Regions from separate parts of the Homo sapiens genome. Here all the other regions are linked to region 3. The links are contacts of gene promoters, found by promoter capture Hi-C in blood cells and fetal thymus (Javierre and others, 2016). All regions are on one chromosome and are shown on one strand. The core of a region is centred on a gene start or on the middle of the fragment in contact, and the rest is flanking DNA. Distances in the headings are between cores, read along the strand shown. Region 1 holds the start of ARHGEF33 (Rho guanine nucleotide exchange factor 33). Region 2 has its middle 99 kb from the start of ATL2. Region 3 holds the start of EIF2AK2 (eukaryotic translation initiation factor 2 alpha kinase 2). Region 4 overlaps HNRNPLL (heterogeneous nuclear ribonucleoprotein L like).

Region 1 (2,700 bases), core at 10-2,509, 1.7 Mb after region 3:
TGCAGTGAACCAAGATCATGCCACTGCACTCCAGGATGGGTGACAGAGCAAAACTTCATCTCAAAAACAACAAACAAACAAACATTGTACTAAGTGAAAGGAACCAGTCACAAACGGCCACATATTATATGATTCCATTTATGTGAAATGCTCTGAATAGGCAAATCCTTAGGGACAGAAAATAGATTAGTGGTTGCCAGGGGAGGAAGAAATTGGGAGGCATGAGGTTTCTAGAATTAGACAGTGGTGATGGTTGCACAGTCTTGAAAATGTACTAAAAACCACTGAATTGTTCATTTAACAGGGACAAATTTTATGTATGATGTGTAAATTATGTCTCAATTTCTTAAAAAGTAGATCTGTGTGTTGTCATATATTCTATGTCCAGAAAACTTCTTTACTTTTTACATAAGATAATTTAAAAATTACCAGAGCAGTATATGTCAACTACATTTAAAAAATTACAATAAAGACCTGAATGTTTTTGCTGAAACTCTATATTCTAAAACTGACAAAAAATAGTGTACACAATAGATAACTTCTTTGTCATATTTCTCTATTCAAAATCTTGTGAATATTTGTATTTCTCAATATGTTATTGCCAAAAGATGTATATTTTTATTTTTTGCTGTACTGGCACAAATTTGGGTTACAATGTCTTCTAAAATGTTAAAATAAAAATGGCATTTTTGTTAGTTTCTCATAATAATAGCTTTATGGCTAATTTTGAAAGACCCTATTTGTAAGTTTTCAAAGACACATTTTAAGAATTGGACATTTTTGTATATGTTGCTAAACATTAGCTGGCATGGCTTTAGAATTAAATATTATTATTATATGGAAATTCATGAAGAGACAAATACTGGACAAGTTAAGATAAGGTGAGAAGATGTTTTCAGGGACCAGGACATATAATTTAAATTCAAAAACTTCTGGAAAATATAGAAAAGTATCTGCTTTGCTGCAAAATAAATTTTCCCTAATTTTTTTCAATTTATTTAAGGCAGCAAGATATATATTTTACTCTTAAAATATTTAACTTGTATTGCTATGTTAATAACTTTTCAAAGTACAACTTTTCAATTTTCTAGTATACCAAAGATATTCCTCCTAAATGGGTTTCTTCCTTTTTACTCATTGAAACTAAATGCAGTTCAGTTATTTGATTAGTTGATGCTAGAATTTGACCTGGAGCTTATATAATTAGAAGAGACACTAGTTTTCCTCATTTAAAAGCCTGGTTAGCATACTACGGTCTCGTTTCAGGGGAAGTCAAGCCTCTCTACTGCTTCTTTTTATAACCTTTAAGTTAATTCAGAACCCAGATAAGCCTTGATCTGAGGATGATATAACCACCGCAGGCAACATGGGGTAAGTATGCGCTTTTATATGCTTTAAGGGGCACTGAAAGGGGAAACAATTTTATAAGAGATGAAAACCCATCAATCCTTACCACGTGGTGTACTAATTTAAATCCAATATATGCTAACATTTATTTGAGGTAGGCATTCAAAGAAATAACTTTTATTTAAGAGTTATAACAATTTGTAAAACATTTATTTCCTTGCTTAATTTTTATATTATGTCTTAACTGCGCTTTGCAGGTTATCGATAAACTGGAGACTGAAGTTGTTCTGCATATTAATAAATATAGTTGAAGATGAGTTAAATTTTGAGAGCAGTCTTAAAGAAAGGATGCTAGACAGCGTAAATCTGACATGGACATGCCTCTTTGGGATTAAGAATAATTAAAGAATGAAAAAGATTAGGGATGGAGGGAGATTGGTTTATTCCTTTCTAACACAGAAAAAGAATAGGGGAATCTTCAGCATTCACTCCCCTATGTACAGAACAAAAAACATATCCTGATTGAAAATGTGTACTGATTAATTACATGGGGGCTTTATTGGTGAAACCTAATTCTAAACACTTCATGGGGCTTTGGTGTGTAATGAGAAGAACTGAGTTTCACTTAAACATTGTCTTAAGTGAGAATAGCGTTCTATTATAATTAGTATTGGAATTATGTGAGTTTTTATATGCTGAAATAGTATTCTGAATATGTAGAAATCTCTATATCACCCTTTTATATTTTTAATAGCCCCTTTTAATACAAAATCATATTGCTGTAAATGGAATAGCTATTTCATTGAAGGCTACTTCTGAAGGATTCAACATAATGATCAGAAATGTATCCTAGAGAAAAAAGTTTTTGATGCACATTTATTCTAAACATTTTTCACAAACTGAATTAATTAATGTCTACATTTTTCATAACCATGGGCTCTGGAAATGCAATCTAAACTCATTTGAAAACTCAGAGGCTTTTGAAACAAGATGACCATACTATTGGTTTTTTTTTTTTTCTTTTTTCTTTTCTTTTTTTAGACAAGGTCTCACTTTGTCACCTGGGCTCAAGCAATCCTCCCACCTCAGCCCCCACAGGTAACTGAGACCACAGGTGCACACCACCACACCCGGCTAATTTTTGTATTTTTTGTAGAGATGGGGTTTCGTCATGTTGCTCAGGTTGGTCTTGAACTCCTGATCTCAAGCAGTCCTCCCACTTCAGCCTCCCAAAGTGCTGGGATTACAGGTGTGAGCCACCATGCTCGGCCTTATTGTTAACTTTTTCTTAATTCCCTTTATTTACCTTCCCTTTTCTCTGTGTATAAGGGTGTACTTCAACATAGCAGGCCA
Region 2 (2,700 bases), core at 106-2,605, 1.1 Mb after region 3:
TAAAGCTTTGAAACCAGGGATTCATTTCTCTCTAGCTATGAAAGTCCTAGATGGCATCTTCTTCCAATATAAGACTATCTCATCTACACTGAAAATCTGTCATTTAGTGTAGCCACCTTCATCAGTGATCTTTCCTAGATCTCTTGGATAACCTGTTGCCACTTCTACTTTAGCACTTACTGCATCACCTTGATTTTACGTTATGTAATAGAGATGGCTTCTTTCCTTAAATATCATCAACCAACTTCTGCTAGCTTCAAACTTTTCTTCTACAGCTTCTTCACCTCTTAGCTTTCACAGAATTGAAGAGAGTTGGGGCCTTGCTCTGGATTAGGCTTTGGCTTAAGAAAATGTTGTGACTGGTTTAATCTTCTATCGAGACTACTCAAACTTTCTTCGAATCAGCAGTAAGGCTGTTTTGCTTTCTTATCATTTGTATCTTCACTAGAGTAGCACTTTTTCTTTCCTTCAACAACTTTTTCCTTTGCATTCACAACTTGGCTAACTGGTGCAAGAGACCTACTTTTTGACATATCTTAGCTTTCAACATGCCTTCCTCACTAGGCTTAATCATGTGTAGCTTGTGATTTAAAGTGAGAGACATGTGACACTTCCTCTCACTTTGTGGGGAAAAGAAAGAGAGATCAGACTGTTACTGTGTCTATGTAGAAAGAAGTCGACCTAAGAGACTCCATTTTGTTCAGTACTAAGAAAAATTCTTCTGCCTTGAGATGCTGTTAATCTGTAACCCTACTCCCAACCCTGTGCTCACAGAAATATGTGCTGTGTCAACTCAAGGTTTAATGGATTAAGGGCTCTGCGGGATGTGCTTTGTTAAACAAATGCTTGAAGGCAGCATGCTTGTTAAAAGTCATCACCACTCCCTATTCTCAAGTACCCAGGGACACAATACACTGCAGAAGGCCGCAGGGACCTCTGCCTAGGAAAACCAGGTATTGTCCAAGGTTTCTCCCCGTGCGATAGTCTGAAATATGGCCTCATGAGAAGGGAAAGACCTGACCGTCCCCCAGCCCGACACCCGACACCCATAAAGGGTCTGTGCTGAGGAGGATTAGTAAAAGAGGAAGGCCTCTTTGCAGTTGAGATAAGGGGAAGGCATCTGTCTCCTGCTCATCCCTGGGCAATGGAATGTCTTGGTGTAAAACCCGATTGTATATTCCATCTACTGAGATACGAGAAAACCGCCTTAAGGCTGGAGGTGGGACATGCTGGCAGCAAAACTGCTCTTTAAGGCATTGAGATGTTTATGTATACGCACATCAAAAGCACAGCACTTTTTTCTTTACCTTGTTTATGATGCAGAGATATGTGTTCACATGTTTTCCTGCTGACCCTCTCTCCACTATTACCCTATTGTCCTGCGACATCCCCTTCTCCGAGAAACGCCCGATAATGATCAATAAATACTAAGGGAACTCACAGACTGGTGCTGGTGTGGGTCCTCCGTATGCTGAGCGCCGGTCCCCTCGACCCACTTTTCTTTCTCTATACTTTGTCTCTGTGTCTCTTTCTTTTCTCAAGTCTCTCGTCCACCTGACAAGAAGCACCCACAGGTGTGGAGGGGCAGGCCACCCCTTCATCACTTGAACACTTAGAGGTCATCGTAGAGTTATTAATTGGCCTAATTTCAATGTTGTTGTGTCTCAGGGAAAAGGGAAGCCTGAGGAGAGGGAGAGTGATGGGGGAAGGCCAGTGGTTGGAACATTCGGAACACACACAACATGTATCAATTAAGTTTGTCATCTTCTTTGGGCACAGTTTGTAGTGCCCCAATTACAATAGTAACATCAAATATCACTGACCAGAGATGATCATAACTGATATAATAATAAAGAAGATGTTTGAAATACTGCAAGAATTACCAAAATGAAACAGAGGCACAGACTGAGCACATGTTGTTGGAAGCATGATACCAATAGACTTGCTTGAGGCGGGGTTGCCACAAATTTTCCATTTTAAAAAAAAGCGTGATATATGCAAAGAACAATAAAGCAAGGCACAATGAGATGAGGGTTGCCTGGCCCTATCTATGCACCTTCGTTGGAGCAGCCTAGGCTTACCTGAGGAGTCAACACAATTTGCATGTGTGGGGCAATACTAAAGGGAATATAGGTAAGTAGCAACGGATGTGACATAGACAATGGCTAGAGGACTCCACACAAGGGAAATATCAAATGGGCCTGACCTCTCAGGCATGAAGAAGCTGAGCCTTGGGAGACATAGATATGAATCACCTACACAGAACGTGAGCATTTCACACTGGGGGAAGTGAATGAGTAGAGACAGATGGAGCACTGAGCATGCCCTGAGATGCTCTGGAGAGAGAAGCAGCTTTTCTTCTGTTTGATAAAGTTGATCCCACCTTGCTTTTTTTTTTCTTTTTTTTTTGAGACAGGGCCTCTCTCTGTCGCCCAGGCTGGGGTGCAGTGGCCAGGTTGGTTTCAAACTCTTGGCCTCAAGTGATCCGCCCACCTCGGCCTCCCAAAGTGCTGGGAATCCAGGCAGGAGGCACCGCACCCAGCCCCACCTTGCTTAAAGACTCTGTAATAGCTACCTTAATGATATGCTAATTTTCCTCATGTCATTTCTACTGGACCTAAACCTATAATTATATCCATTTATCCCATGAGGCCAATTACAAAGTCGAACCCTAGAGAAAACACATACCAAAACCAAAAA
Region 3 (2,700 bases), core at 36-2,535:
CAGAAATTATTTTGGCTATGCCTCCACTTCCTTTCCAGCAGACTACATACAGCCTGGCCAACACGGTGAAACCCTGTCTCTACTAAAAATAAAAAAATTAGTTGGCTGTGCTGGCGGGCACCTGTAGTCCCAGCTACCTGGGAGGCTGAGGAAGGAAAATCGCTTGAACCTGAGAGGCAGAGGTTGCAGTGAGCCCAGATCGTGCCACTGCATTCCAGCCTGGCGACAGAGTGAGAATCTGTCTCAAAAAAAAAAAAAAAGAAAAGAAAAGAAAGAAAATGTCACCAGGTGATAACTACTATGTTGACAACCGAAGTAGTGGAAGGGGGAACAGCAAGGGCAGAGCGGGGTTTCTTGTATAGGCAGGTTGTTTGAGGAAGGCTGCTCTGATAAGCTGGCATGGGAAGCAGTGCAGGATAAGGGAGGGATTTCCCCATGCAGTTATCTGGGGAAGAAGCTTTCCAGAAAGAAGAAACAAGCAGTGCAAAGGCCTAGAGGCTGGAGGATGCTTGGCTGTGCACCAGGAACAGCAAGGAAGCCAGCGTGGCCGGAGTAGGGGGTGCGAGGGGCCTTGCCTGTGAGCCTTAATAAATGTTTATAGGATTCTGATGAGACAGGAAAGCTACGGGGAAGGTCGGAGCAGGGGAGAGTCTGGTTCTTACTTAAAGGAACATTCCAGATGCTGAGGTGTGGAGAAGAGGTAGGGGGTGGAGGTTCAGGGGTGAGGATACGGAGTGGGAACAGGAACTGCGGCCAGGCAATTGGGAAACTACTGCAACTCTCCACGGAAGAGATTTTTAGCCAAAGATTGTTCAGCCAGTCTATGAGTATTTCAGGCCTCCGTATTTTCCATGTGTCAAGCCACTAGGCCTATTCGTCTTCCACTAGACCCCGCCCCACAACTGCTGCCTGGGAAATATTTGTTACTTGCACTGATAAAAATTCTTCACGGGAAGGAAATGGCTTTCAGTCCCCACCCCGCTCCACGATCCTTTCCCTGGATTTGGGGAGGGCCCCACACCCGGGCTGCGGACCTGGGCCTGCTCTCCCAGTGCTGACCCAGCCGGGGCCAGGGGCTTCGGATCAGCGTCCGCGTCCTGAGCTGGGGACGCAGGATTGGCGAGTCCCGCCCCGGCTGGGCCTGCAGCCCCTCGTACGTGGCCCCCCGGCCCCCGCTCCCCGCGCTCCCTCGGCTGCCCCCTGCCCTGCTCACCTGCGCCGCCGCCGCCGCCGCCGCCGCCGCCGGCCGGAGACCCGCGGCTTCGGGAGAGCTGGTTCTCAGTTTCGTTTTCCCCTTGGACTCCGCCTTCCCTGCAGCCGCCCGGCCCCCTCTCGCACAAGCCCTCGTCTGCTACGGGATTGGGGTAAATTGGCGCTGGATCCAGAGTGCGCGCGAGAGGCACTGGCGGGCGGGCTTGGCACCGGCGGGCGGGCTTGGCACCGGCAGGCGGGCTTGGCACCCACGTGCTGCCCCTGCACGGCCAGGACCCTGCACCCCCATCCCCCGCCCCCGGGGCTCCTAGGGTTCTCCGCTGGCCTAGTCCGCTGGCCGCACTAGGTTCTCGAATCAAGGGTTCCACTTACTCTCAACACAAATATTTGGGGTGGGGTTGGGAAGATGGATCTTACCAGCTCCATTCTACAATAGAGGAAACTGAGTAAATGAACTCACCCAGGGGTCCTGCCGCTCGTAAGTGGCAAAGCCAGGATTCAGTTCAAGTCGGGGCCTGTAAACACCAAAGCACTCTTTCCCTCTTGCCACACCGCGGCCCCCTCACCTTTACAAGCCTGGGGATCAGAGGCCTGGGGGCGTAATCTCCTTCACTCCGCTCCCACCCATCCATTCATTCATGAGCAGACACTTGCCAGCCGCTGTAAAAGCACCTGTGGGCCAGTCCTGCTGCTAAATAGAGACACCTGCTTCCTACAGTACCCCAGGGAGCTTCCTACCATAGTCCAACACCAGTAGTCCTCGATTTATAGAAATTCTACTCACCTGATGGACTGCGACACACTCCCAGAGTCACACAGAGTTCCAGAGTTCATTGGCACAGTGACTAATGAGTATTGAGGCACAGAGAATTTGGATTAACACAGGTAGTAAGCAGCGGAGTTAGAATTATAACCAGGAGTTTGTACTCTCAGTATCTTAGCTGGGATAAGAGAGGAAGGTGGTCCAAAGACAGACCTCAAATATACATTAAATATTATGCCTAGGCCGGCGCGGTGGCTCATGCCTGTAATCCCAGAAATTTGGGAGGCTGAGACGGGCGGATCACCTGAGGTCAGGAGTTCAGGACCAGCCTGGCCAACATGGCAAAACCCCGTCTCTACTAAAAAACACAAAAATTAGCTGGGCGTGGTGGCAGGCACCTGTAATCCCAGCTACTCCAGAGGCTGAGGCAGGGAGAATTGCTTGAACCTGGGAGGCAGAGATTGTAGTGAGCTGAGATCATGCCACTACACTCCAGCCTGGGTGACAGAGTGGGACTCCAATTCAAAAAAAAAAAAAAAAAATTACACCTAGGCAGGCATCCTCTCCAGCCTCCCTTCTCCATCCCCCAACAACCCCACATTGCAGGGTATCAACAACTAAAATCTACACTTTCCTTGTAGCTCTGGTCCTGGGCATAGCTTAAGTCCCCTATATGTAAAGCACTGGCGGGAGGTTTAGAAGGTAGACATGAGGCAGAGCCATCT
Region 4 (2,799 bases), core at 109-2,608, 1.4 Mb after region 3:
ATCCTAGCAAAAGAAACCAATATAAAGAGAAACTTACCTTCTCAATATTTCCATATAAGCAGAACAGGTTGAAGACTCTTGAACAATTCATTTTTAGTTGATGTAATCCACTAACCATTACAACTGAACCAGAGGGATTTCCTCCATGCATGTAAGAGGAAGAAGCCTGTGGTAATGGATAAGCAACAAGTTCAGGTGTATCTCGAGAGCCCATTCTGTAACGACTTGGTAAAGGCAATAATGGACCATGGGATCCTATAAAAATGATCAAAATAAATAAATTAGTTAACATATACACATAGTTGTTTGTAAATACTTTAGTAGATATACTGCACCACACACAAAAAATAAACTCTTAATATTAGCTAGTTTGATGTACAAAGAAAACTCAAATGTATGAATATTTCAGTATAACCTGAGGAAAATTAATAAAATCTGTATTCATTTGCACCAGATACAATATATATTGACCTATACCTGCATACACCAGGCTATAAGCTTACATTTTTAAAAAATTATAGTTTAACAAGACTATGGGGGGTTAAGAAAATGAATGTAAAGTCTGGGGCTACTGTATATAAATTATACCTCAAATTTAAAAAATAAACCTCCTGCCAATGTCTTTTGGAGGAGTAATAATATTACATGTACAGTGAAATCTGGGAAGCTATCTCTACACAGATATAACAAAAAGAACCTCTTCAGTTCCACTGAAAAGTTGTTTCCTTGAATATATTTTACTATGTACTTTCAGGTTGGTATCTTATTCCCCTAATTCTAATTTAGGAAACTAAAACCCTAGATTTAGTTAATAACTCAACTACACACAGGTGTCTTATTACTCTACAACTTCCATTTTTTTGAAACAGTATCAAGAACCCAGAAGGAAATAATGCCTGAGTATCTAAAACTATTTCAGCAGAAAAACACACTCAAATCTATGTCTCTTACATTGAGAATCCTCATTAAGAATCAACTTGCTAACTTTAGAGTAGCTTTAAACAACTTTATCTGTTTTTCCCATCCACAACAGATCTAACAAAAAATAAAGCTAGAGTGTAGAATGAAAAGAAATGAGGGTGGAGAAACTGACACTCAAAGTAGACACAGGGCACATTTTACAGCAATAAGAAGAAAGGCAGAGGAACTCAAAAGCAGCAACTAAGATGGAGACATGCAGCTTAGAAACAGAAACCCTACACATCTTAGATGCTCCTAATAATAACAGAAGCAACATCTAGGGTACATGCAAAGGTCCCCCTGATGTGCAAAACCAATCCAAAAACCCAAGTCCTTTCTCTATTTCTCAAGAAGAGTATGTAATGCCACTGAGTTGCACTTGTATATAGGACTAAGGGACAACTGTCATCTATCTACTAAGTGAGTTACTAAGAACTACTAAATTTTGGTATTCATAACATACTATTAGAGCTTATGGTGGACTCCAATTTTTGGTATTCTAACAGCTGCCATTCATAACAACACAGTAACACCACCACCAAGCACACACAAACACGGTGTGAATTTCTGCAATTTTAGGGAGGAATACTTTATCAATGTATCATCAGTGTCTCCTTAAATTGGTCATGGATTTCAACTACTCCTTTTATTGGCAATTGGTAGTTTAACAAAACAATCCATATGAGCGACTGTTTAGTAATTAGTTTTTAGGCTGTTTAGTAATTATTTTAGCCTCTAATTTAGACTCTCATACACACACCAAGATTCAAATATCAATTATTCTTATTCCTATTGCAAAAGTACATATACATAATATACTGCCTCCCCGCCACCTACCATTTGCTTGTACAGTAATGACATTTCACTATCATCACACTAAATTTTCTTTTTCATGGAAGTAGAAAGACACATGGTAGACAGGCAGTGGAAACTTTTACTCTATGTATAGTGGCTAAAGTCCAAAACCTCTGAGATCTACTGCCCTAAGTAACAACCAAAATCAGTCCACAAGAATAACTGATGTTTATAATTATGACTTTGAGCCATCATTATTAAATTATCTTATCTATACTACTTAAAGTATTACCTATATTATTTAAGATAAGAAAAATCAGACGTCTTTTAAAAGTTTTCTATACTAAATTGATAATAGAAAGTCTGGGTGTTTAAAAAACTAATGCTTCAAATATTTAAAAAACTGACATGGAAAAATGCTACATAAATGGTATATTAACATCTTGAAGGCATTTTTCATCTTTCAAGCTTTAAAATCTTTCGTCTACAAACCATATCCAAAGATGCTACAAATTAATACACAAACTCTTCTTGAGCTTACAGCAAATAAATCTATGTATCAATTTCTGCCATGGTTCAACTATGAAAGCTTCTACCAGTTCATATCATTAAGTCTGGGCTTCCCAAATTAAAAGAGGTAAAGAATTGTGATGATTCACATAGATTTCATACTGCTATAATAAACCAATGAATAAACTTAATCTGATGGAATCTATGGGTCCTGAACCATAATTAACTCTTTCTATTCCCTTTCTTATAGTCGTCACATAGGAAAAGGAAAGGTCATCTATAAGGTGATCCCAAAATGCAAGTAAACCTGTTTTGCTGAAGCGCTGATCTGAAGGGATACATTTGTGATTTGCAATATTTGTAAAAAGGCTCAATATCACTAGCACACATCCCCCATCTTTGCTTTTTCCCCTATTACTCATCTTACTTCTCTTCTCTGCCTCTTTATTCGCTCTCTTTCCTCCTATACCCCAATTCTGCTTACTTCCCTAGAAAAGTGGAACAAATTAACCTCAGATTAAATATCTTAATGGA

The links. Contacts are between HindIII fragments. The CHiCAGO score rates a contact against its expected background, and 5 or more counts as called.
Region 1: a contact is called between the fragment with the promoter of ARHGEF33 here and the fragment with the promoter of EIF2AK2 in region 3, in 1 of 17 cell types (monocytes). The highest score is 6.5, in monocytes.
Region 2: a contact is called between a fragment that was not itself captured here and the fragment with the promoter of EIF2AK2 in region 3, in 1 of 17 cell types (total B cells). The highest score is 5.3, in total B cells.
Region 4: a contact is called between a fragment that was not itself captured here and the fragment with the promoter of EIF2AK2 in region 3, in 1 of 17 cell types (total CD8 T cells). The highest score is 5.1, in total CD8 T cells.

Annotation. Positions count from the first base shown.
Region 1 is chr2:38,888,616-38,891,315 of GRCh38, forward strand. ARHGEF33 (Rho guanine nucleotide exchange factor 33) reads left to right here and starts at 1,260. Exons shown (of 18, transcript NM_001145451.5): 1 at 1,260-1,371. The HindIII fragment of the contact is 7,511 bases long and covers 1-2,700 here.
Region 2 is chr2:38,277,161-38,279,860 of GRCh38, forward strand. No RefSeq gene overlaps it. Among named protein-coding and RNA genes, the nearest start is that of ATL2, 99 kb to the right of the region's middle. RefSeq lists enhancers at 1-874, 875-1,858. The HindIII fragment of the contact is 2,705 bases long and covers 4-2,700 here.
Region 3 is chr2:37,155,695-37,158,394 of GRCh38, forward strand. EIF2AK2 (eukaryotic translation initiation factor 2 alpha kinase 2) reads right to left here and starts at 1,286. Exons shown (of 17, transcript NM_001135651.3): 1 at 1,214-1,286. RefSeq lists silencers at 1,076-1,195, 1,396-1,585 and an enhancer at 1,216-1,345. The HindIII fragment of the contact is 2,417 bases long and covers 456-2,700 here.
Region 4 is chr2:38,573,173-38,575,971 of GRCh38, forward strand. It overlaps HNRNPLL (heterogeneous nuclear ribonucleoprotein L like), which reads right to left. Exons shown (of 13, transcript NM_138394.4): 8 at 38-255. Among named protein-coding and RNA genes, the nearest start is that of HNRNPLL, 28 kb to the right of the region's middle. The HindIII fragment of the contact is 1,725 bases long and covers 497-2,221 here.